Regions from separate parts of the Homo sapiens genome. Here region 1 is linked to region 2. Evidence: promoter capture Hi-C in 16 types of primary human blood cells and fetal thymus (Javierre and others, 2016). All regions are on one chromosome and are shown on one strand. Each heading gives the region's core, a stretch centred on a gene start or on the middle of the fragment in contact. The rest is flanking DNA. Distances are from core to core; before and after follow the strand shown.

Region 1 (4,813 bases), core at 1,925-4,424, 2.7 Mb before region 2:
TATATTCATCTTTGTTCTCATGATACTATAATGTCCTTCAGAGCAGAAACTGTGTCTTATTCATCTTTGTATTCCCAGCACCCAGCACAGTACCTGACACACAGCAAGCACTCAATAATGAATAAAGTGGCAGAGTTGGGTTTCAAAGTCAGGTCTTTTCTCTCTGGCACAAATCTCACATTTCTTCATGCTACTTCTCAATACTGTGAATTTGAAAAATTCCAAGAGCTGAGCTAGGTCTATTTTTGCCTAGCACTAATTAAAACACAGGCAAATAGATTATTATTAGTTCCATGAGGATTCAGTTGATTATTTTTTTGTACACCCCTTCCTCCATCATTCCACCACTTTGATCATCAGAGTACTTAGGATTACCTATATCTAAAATGACTGAAAGGCTAGGCATGGTTGAGTGCACCTGTAGCCCCAGCTACTCAGGAAGCTGAGGTGGGAGGCTTGCTTGAGCCCAGGAGTTGGAGGCCAGCCTGGGTAACACAGTGACACGTTGTCATAATAAATAAGTGAGTAGACTGAAAGAACTTTCTCTATACTTTTATATCCTTTTGTAACTCTTATCCTGTTGCTTCCATAATACCACTGAGGCAGGGAGAGACTAAGTACATGGGGAGCAAGGTAAATTTTATTTTTCTGTCAACAGACACTAAAAATGGATACATCAATAGAAAGTCATTTCCCATCATTTCCCTCAAGGTTCCTATGGATAGATATTAAAGGTTCAGTGCTTAAATTTAACATTGCAAAATCCAGCTAAAATTGAAATTTTTATGTAGTGAGTTCAATCTCATCACAGAAGTTTGTAAATGGGAGGAACCTTAGAAATCCTTTAGTCCAGCACTTTCATTTAAGCTTCCACGAAGAAACTGACATAAGACCTACAATGGCTCACTCAAGGTCATCCAGGCTATCGATGCCATTATACATCTTTTTCAAAGGGCTTCATTTTCCATCTAAACAAATTATCTACATCAGAATCCACCTATTTACATAGGGCTTATCTTTCTGATATTGCCTTTGCAATATCCTTGTTATAAAGAGGAAGGAACTGAAAACAAACAAAACAAAACAAGGTTGTCTTGTCCAGGGACATAGAGGAATTGGTAAAAAAGACAATTAGTACACAAAGTGATGGGGTTTCCTATTTGTAGTGTAGCCTTGTAGTCACACTGTGTTCTCCGAATGCCACAATGCTAACCCAAAATTACTTGTCCTTCCTGGGCCTGGATTCCATTCAATTTTATGCCTTGTTTAGTCTAAATGATTTCCCCAGCTTCGACATGTATTTATTTATTTATTTATTTATTTATTTATGCGTTTCATTTTAGAAGTATACTTAAATCTACTCTTTACTCGAGTTTGTCTTAGTTCTAGTGCTGAGGAATGAAGATTCTGGGTAAAAGAAATCAAGATGATGTTTTTTTTTTCTAGGCTTTACATTTCAAGGATTGTTTCTCAAATGGCAACTGGCAGTCTACTCCTCAAATGATGACGTTTTCCACAGGAATTACAATTTAATTGGAATATTTTGTTTTCAATGGGAAGCAAAGATTTCTTTCCAAGAGGATCAGTTTGATAATGTTTTACCAGCTAGTGCTACGAGACCAAATATAAACCAGTTCTGAGAAACAGGAAGTGAACTGACTGGTCTAGTCTGAGTGTCCCTGGCAGTGACGCAAATACAGAAATCAAATTAGGAAAACAAGATATGTGGGTGTGAGGCAATCGATAATAATCCAGGATGCTACAACATAAGCAAGAATGCCTTTAACCCGATGCCATTCATTTTAATAACACCCTGAGCAGTTTGATTTCCACGGAACACGCTGGTGATTAGAGAGCAGCAGGAGCTTGGGTTCCCTAGCAACAGCATGTGCTTTTGAGACAGTCATTAGCCTTTCAGTTAATCCCATCAACCCCTTACCTCTAAATGTATGACTGACATAAAAAAAATGATGTTTTAGAAAGTGCTTTGAAATTTCCAGGAGTGCAATGGAAGGGAATAATCATAATTAAAAAGTTGTCTGGAGAACTACACTCCAGTGAAGGAAGTAATGTTCCTACGTGCCAAGCCTGTCCGTATATTTCCCTGCTCTCAGTTGTAGGTTTCTGAATCCCCTGTGGCAAAGGGCAAGGGAGGTGAAATTGTTCAGAGTTTCAGGCAGTCTTCTCACCTAAAGTGAGTAGTATTGCAATGTCTCTTGGAATCATGGCTCTGAAGATGAGGAGAGAAGCGGGATGGGCAGTTTGTGTGGTGAGGAGGCTGGCTGCAGGTAGGCTGGGAGGGAATGTCACACATAGTTTTCTTTCTCCTTTAAGCCGAATGAGGTATGCTGGTCAAAGGAACTTGGGGAAGGAGGATGGTGAGGGGAATGAAGTTCTTCTTCCTATTGATTGTTTTGTTGCACCAGAGGCTGTTTGTCCAAGGCCACTGGCCAAGAGCATTATTTTCGTGGCTAAAGTGAGGTTGGGCAGGTTTCCCATCCCTTTCACTAGTTTTGAACAAGACAACCCAGAAAGCGCAGCAAGGCTCTGGGAATATGATGTGGGTTGGCTTTTCCTACTCAGCTGCACCTTAAAGCGCCAGGCCGATGGGCTGATACTTCTCAAACCCTGAATCATTGCCTCCAGCTCTGTCCTGGGTTCAGGATGCACCACTCCACCCTCTGTGTAGCTTGGGGTCAACTTCGGGGCGTCACTCCAATAGTAATTATTGCTGCGTTTGGCTGGACATCCTTATTACGGCCTGGGTCCCTCTCAGCTGGAAACTGGGCTCCTTCAGTTTGGCTGGGGTGACTTCTAGCACTTCCCGCCGCCCCACCTTACCCCCCTGCGCGCTCCCTTCCCAAGGCGACCACCTGCACCGCCCCACTTACCATCTGCCCCGCGGGGAGGGCCCCCCGGGCTAGCGGAGCCCTCCCTGCTCCCGGGCGGCTCTGGAGGAGCTCGGTGTTTGCCTCTAGCCCTTCGCTACCGGAGGATCAGGTTCCTCCCCTCCTCCCCCTCCAGCTCCGGCCGCCGCCGCCGCCGCCGCCGCCTCCTTCTTGCATGACACAGCAGAACCGCAGCTGCTGCAGCAATTTCAAGCCATCCGCCCAGGAAGCGCCGCAACCGGGACTCGGGAGGGGTGGAGGGGGCGAGGCAGAGGCCGCGGCCCCAGGGGATCCTTGGCCCCACTGTGCACCACACACTCCTTTCCCAGCCCAGGGGCACGCGAACAAAATGAGGCTCAAGCTGACCAGGCCGAGCCGGAGGAACGCTGGGGCTTGGCAGCAGAAGGGATGGGACCAGAGAGAAGGGTGTGGAGGAGACCCCAGTGAGGGCCAGGACATTTCAGGTAAAGAGAGGTAAGAAGAGGCCCAGAAGTCAAGGGCCAGACTGTGAAGGTGATTAGAGGTCAAAAGAGGTAAGGAGGTAGAGTTGCAAAGAAGAGAGGCCGAGCTGGGAAGGGCGTGGGGGTGGGGGTAGCTGCAGGGGAGGGTGGGGGGTACAGTCTTTGGGGAGGCCCGAGCTGAGCCCCCAGGCAGAAAAGGGGCTGAGTTGGGAGGCAAGGGAGGTAGGAGGAAAGGGATGAAAAGAATTAGGCATGAGATAGGAAGGTAAAACTTGGGAGAGATATTATAGAATTAGAAGGGTTGGAATGGAGCTCATTCATCATGGCTGATGAAGTAAACTGATGAGGTGGAGAGAGACAGAGTCAAGGCAAGGCCAAACGAAAAGATCTTCCATCCCACTCTTCAGTTTCTTGCGAAGTTTTTCTTGATTCCGCCAATCCACACAGTTTCCTTTATAAAATGGAAAAGCATGAACTAAAAAACCCAGAAATAGCTATCTGGCTTAGATTTACAGGATAAAATCTCCATGTCTGTAAAAACTTTAAGGCAGAAATTTGGGATTTATGGTACAAACCCTTTAAGGGACTGTGAGTCAGTAATACCCACAGCACTCAACATTGTGAGTTTCCACACATCCCTGGACTTGAGTGAGTCTTTCCAAGTGTTTGTTAATGGTACAAATGATGACAAAATTAGTGGTTCAAAAATATTAAAGTGCACATGCTTTTTGCTTTCTCTATGTATACAGAGATTACATATATGTATACTTTCTAGCGTCTAGCAAGTATGGTATGGCTAGGGATAATTATGTTTTTCTGATTATTTTGTTTCCCATCAAACACCCCACGAATTTTACAGCAGACCGCCTTCTTGTCACCATTTGAAAGAATGTGGTCAGAAAAGTAATGCAAAAACTGCCACTTTGGTTTTGTCTGTACCTTCCAGGTCATATCTCCGTACCTCACTTCCTGACACAAACAAGTTTTCACTGTTGTCAGCAACAAAGCCCTAATATAGCTGCGGAAGAGAAAAACTGCATTGCATTTTGCCTCCTGCAAGCATCATCAACAGTTACTGGAGGAACGTAATTCCAGAAAGCTTGAAAGCCGTGGTGATGGTAATTATGTATCAAATGCCTGGTTCTATTTCTGTTATTATTGTTTTGTCATTTCTGTTTTCCCAGCGATCTGACTGAACTCGCAGAGGGACAAATCCAGTTTTTCTTTTTGACTTTTGTCAAACTAAATCAGGCCTGATAGAAAACTCATTGCTCTCCGGGGAAACAAAGTAGGAGCCACGAAATGTCATTTTAACAGAGCGTGGGTTTGGTGACTGTAGGAAAGGATTTGAGGACGCTCCTTCTGTTCGGCTTCCTATGTCATGAGCACAGGCTCCACGCACGCACAGACACCACGGCTCCCGGATGCTGTGGCTCCCCGATCGGGGCTCCTGCAGCGCCAGAA
Region 2 (4,809 bases), core at 58-2,557:
AAGGATGAATCTATAGCCTTTTGGGGATATGCATGCATCCAGCCCTGACTCTTCTGTCCTCTCACAGGGCTGAAGGAGAGGCTTAGCCAGTGAGGGACACAGGGACCAGGGAGTTGCACAGCAACTCTCCAAGAATATTTTACATTGCAAACTTCATGGCTGCGGAGCCAGTGTTGCTTCTTGGACTAATTCAAGAACACTTCTTAAAACTTTTACTTTCTTAGGCCAGGCGCGGTGGCTCATACCTGTAATCCCAGCGCTCTGGGAGGCCGAGGCGGGTGGATCACCTGAGGTCAGGAATTCGAGACCAGCCTGACCAACATGGTGAAACCCTGTCTCTACTACAAATACAAAAATTAGCCGGGCATAGTGGCACATGCCTGTAATCCCAGCTACTCGGGAGGCTGAGGCAGAATTGCTTGAACCCGGGAGGCAGAGGTTGCAGTGAGCCAAGATCGCGCCATTGCACTCCAGCCTCGGCAACAAAAGCAAAACTCCGTCTCAAAAACAAACAAACAAACATTTACTTTATTGAAAATTTTGTTCCTGCAAGGCACAATACACAACCCCTGTGCTACAGTGCAGGCATCAGTCACCTTCCTGAAATAGGCCCAGTCCTTTTGCAGGGGGGTGGTGGGTAATGGGAAATATAAGAACATGCCCTGGAGAAAGGAACCTGCCTAGAAGTCTCTCCCACATCACAGATTGGAGTTAACTACAAACTTTTTGCAAGTCCAAATAACTCTATGAGGGTCAAATCTATCAAGTTCATTTATTTAACAAACATACCATGAATATCTGCAATGTGTTAGGTACCCTGGAAGATACTAGGGCCACATTGCAAACCTTATAGACAAAGGGTAGTTAACACGCAACACGCTAAGTGTTGGGACAGCAAGGAGATCGTGAAGGTGCTCTGGGAGGGCATGGCAGGGATGCCTAACTCAGCACCTGTGGGCGTGGGATGGGCCACGTGGATCCTAGTTAGGACCACCTTAGGACAAAACAGGGCTGACGGCTGAATGGGGACCCCAGATGGGGCGTGGGCGATCAGAGAGGATCCCGGCGGCGCACCCCCAGCCCTGGAACGCGAGGCTGCTAGCGCGGCGAGCACTCTAGCGATGGGGGTGGGGAGCCGGGGAAGCCCACAGGGCCGCTCACCTCCGGGGGAACAGCCGGGAGTGGATCGCCGGCTGTAGGAGCAGGTCGTGCAGGAGTCCGGAGGAAAGTCGGTTACTAAGCACCAGCGCAGAAGCTTCCCGCCACAAAACTCACCGGAGACAAAAGCGCCGTCAGCCGCAGAGCGCAGAGCAACGCCGCCCAGCCTCCGCCCCTTATAGCCGCGAGCACGCCCCAGGAGGGTACGCGCACGCGCACTGGAGGCCGCACGCACGCCCGGGACGCACACGACGTGGCGCACGTCCGCGGCCCCACCCCGCGGGCAACGGGGTTTGGGGATTGTCCCGGGTGCTCTCCCGCGGAGCTGTTTCCAAAAGTACACGTCGTGCGGTTTTGAGTCATTGTGTTCTGGAGTGAGACGAGGCGTGTGTATTAATCTCGACTGCCATCTCTGCTGTAGAAAACATTTGAAGGAGTCAGAGAGCACATATCCCTTCTCCCCAGTAGGTGAAAAACACCGATGGCCTTCGTGTCCGTGAAGCCCCGCCGTGAAGGGTGGGTTCTTCCCCAGAGATTTCGGGTGCACTAAATTGTCAGAGGGCACCAGACCCCTACCCCACTCGTTATTTTCTTCATTTCAAGGACTGAAGAGCTGGTTTTGTTTCACTTCATAGCTGTACCAAGATTCCAAATCCCGAGTTTCAGTTGCCATCGGTATCTCTGGAATGGTGAGGCCCTTGTGCAACATATTAAGCTCTGCAAGCTCTGCTTTCTATGAGAGTTTGTCGTGTCGCTTCAGAAAACGTGAAATACTCCTGGCCCTGGTGTGGGATCCTAACTGCATATGGGCAAGTCACTTGGTATTTAAATGGGCCTCGGTTTTCTCATCTGTAATGAAGACATTGGCCACTAGATGATTTTTCTTCTTCTTCTTCTTTTTTTTTTTTAAATAGAGACAGTCTCGCTATGTTGCCCAGGCTGGTCTCGAACTCCTGATCTCAAGCCATCCTCCCACCTCTGCCTCCCAAAGTGCTGGGGCTACAGGCGTGAGCCACCGCGCCCGGCCGCTAGATGATTTTTAAGGGTGCTTTCGGCTTGAACTAAAGAGCCAGGAGGTCACAGACCAGCCTTATGTCCAGATTTGGGGGGCTAGGCTGCCTTACTAATCACCCCCGAACCCACCCAGCCAAGACTGTGCGGTCTGTCTTGAGAGCACGCAACGGGGGATCTCAGAAAGTAGAGTCCCGGAGAGACACTGGGAATGGGGAGGACCCCCGGGAAGGGGTGTACACGCCGTGGAAGGGAAGGCCGCTGGTGGCTTTAGAACTGGCGGTTCCGTGTACCCGGGTCAAGTGCCCGTGCCGGATGGGAAAGAACCCTGTGACTTTCCACATCTCAGCGAGCTCGGCGGGCTCTGCTTAAGAAGGGCTCTAAGACGGGAAGGGAGGAGCCATCCCCACTGCGACCTTTCCCCTCCTTTCCTGGCTGGCTGGCTGTGGTCTGTCGGGAATGAGGGGGTGGGGAAGCCGGGAAAGCAGAAGGTTGGGGCTGGAGGTCTGCTGGCAGGCAGGCAGACATTTGGAGCCAACTTTCCTGCTCAGCCCGCAGAACTTTTGGTCCTTCGCTATACCAGAGTTTCGTCTGTTTTTTTGCTTGACTGTGTGACCCTTCTCTCACACTGTTATTAAATAGGTCTCAAGCTGCGAAATCACTGCCAGATCCAAACGCCACTACTTTGCCAGGTGAAGGCCTTGGGCGAACCCTTTAACCTTCTTGTAGTTCTGTTTCCTCAGCTGTTCTGTGAGATCATAACAGTCTTAACCTGATATTAAATGAATTAATCCATATAAAGCGCTTAGAACAATGCCTGGCACATAAAAAACATTCTATGAATCTTAACATTATCTGTATCATCAACTACAAAACTCCCAGTGAGGGGTTTTGCTCATTAGCAGCCTAGGCTTGCTGAATGAATGCAGGAATTCTACAATGACCATTTGAGTTCTACTTAGTTTGAGTTCTAAATTTATACTTCACACAGCTGGAAGAAGGGATGGGCACCTCTCCAACAATTCTTTCTCCCCATATTCCCTGCCATTGTCTAAAGGTCATGCCAGTTGGAAATAAGAAGGGTTTGGGTGAGGGCAGCTCTATGCTTTACCATTCTGTCAGCTACAAATGTAGCTACCTGCATCAGGATTTAGTCCTGCCTTCAACACCTTGGCCAGGCTAACTGACCCCTTTGAACTTTAGTTTCCTTATCTGTAAAATGAGGAAAATAATCTGTAAAACAGGGTTGTTGTGAGGGTTGGAAATAATGCCCATAAAGAGTATGTCATATATGCTCAACAAATAGTAGCTATTATTTTGCTAAAAAGTATAAAGCCAGATTCTTGTTCTAAATAAGCTTGTCACCTGGTTGAGTAAACAAGACCTGAATAAGATAAGATAACTAACAACCCAAGGCAGTGTGGGGTAGAGTTTAGAAGTAAGTACATAAGTAGGGTGGTAATGTTTTGCTTGGGGAACTGGGATTTTAACATTCACTATGGTTATTTAAAAAAAAAAAAAAAAAAGAGCTGGGCATGGTGGCTCACACCTGTAATCCCAGCACTTTGAGAGGCTGAGGCGGGCAGATCACCTGAGGTCAGGAGTTCGAGACCAGCCTGACCAACATGGACCAACATTCTCTACTAAAAATACAAAATTAGCCAGGCATGGTGGCGCATGCCTTTAATCCCAACTACTTGGGAGGCCGAGGCAGGAGAATCACCTGAACCTGGCAGGCAGAGGTTGCACTGAGCTGCGATCAGACCATTGCACTCCAGCCTGGGCAACAAGAGGGAAACTCCATCTCAAAAAAAAAAAAAAGAAGAAAGAAAGAGTGGAAACAAAATAAGCATTCTTCAAGTAACTGATACGTGCTGAACATTTTGCTAAATGCATTACATGTATTATTTAATTTTTCTAACGATGCTATGAGGTAGGTATTATTGCCTCTCTTCTTTATTTGTTGTTGTTGTTGAGAAAGGGTCTCACTTTGTTTTCCAGGCTGGAGTACAGTGGCACGATCACTGCTCACTGCAGCCTTGACTTTCTGGGCTCAAGCTATCCTACCACCTCAGCCTCCTAAGTAGCTGGGACTACAGTTACACACCACCACACCCAGCTAATTCTTTCTTTTTTCTTTCTTTGCCACCACCACACCAGCTAATTCTTTTCTTTTCTTTTCCTTTTCTTTCCTTTCTTTCTTTCTTTCTTTTTCTTTCTTTCTTTCTCTTTCTTTCTTTCTTTCTTTTTCTTTCTTTCTCCCTTTCTTCCCTTTCTTTCCTTTCTTTTCTTGCTTTTCTTTCTTTTTTTTTTGTAGAGATGGGGTCTCTCTATGCTGCCCTGACTGGTCTCAAACTCCTGACCTCAAGTGATCCACGTGCCTCAGCCTCACAAAGTGCTGGGATTACAGGTGTGAGCCACCATACCCAGCCTTCTTTATTTGTTAACTATGCTTTTTCTTCCAGAGGAAGAAGAGACTTTCTTCACCTAGTCTTTTACTCATCTTTCATATCTCAATTCAAACATATTTCCTCTGGTCACCCTTGCTGACCCTCGGACCCTGTTCCGGGCTCCAGTGGCATGATAGGCATTTCTTTCCCAGTGTGTTACTTTACCCTTAGTTGTATTAATGTCTGTGTC

What was found. The method cuts DNA at HindIII sites, captures the fragments that hold promoters and counts their contacts. A CHiCAGO score of 5 or more calls a contact.
Region 1: the fragment with the promoter of LINC-PINT here is called in contact with the fragment with the promoter of HILPDA in region 2 in 1 of 17 cell types (total B cells); the score reaches 5.3 in total B cells.

The regions. Positions count from the first base shown.
Region 1 is chr7:131,108,286-131,113,098 of GRCh38, reverse strand. It overlaps LINC-PINT (long intergenic non-protein coding RNA, p53 induced transcript), which reads left to right and starts at 3,174. Exons shown (of 8, transcript NR_170176.1): 1 at 3,174-3,362; 2 at 4,296-4,813. It also overlaps a transcript of MKLN1 not described here. RefSeq lists silencers at 1,609-1,668, 2,819-2,968, 3,049-3,098 and enhancers at 1,386-1,927, 4,322-4,813. The HindIII fragment of the contact is 3,581 bases long and covers 870-4,450 here.
Region 2 is chr7:128,452,376-128,457,184 of GRCh38, reverse strand. It overlaps HILPDA (hypoxia inducible lipid droplet associated), which reads right to left and starts at 1,307. Exons shown (of 2, transcript NM_013332.4): 1 at 1,162-1,307. It also overlaps the pseudogene EFCAB3P1. RefSeq lists a silencer at 1,255-1,394 and enhancers at 1,495-1,664, 2,573-3,279. The HindIII fragment of the contact is 2,271 bases long and covers 1,258-3,528 here.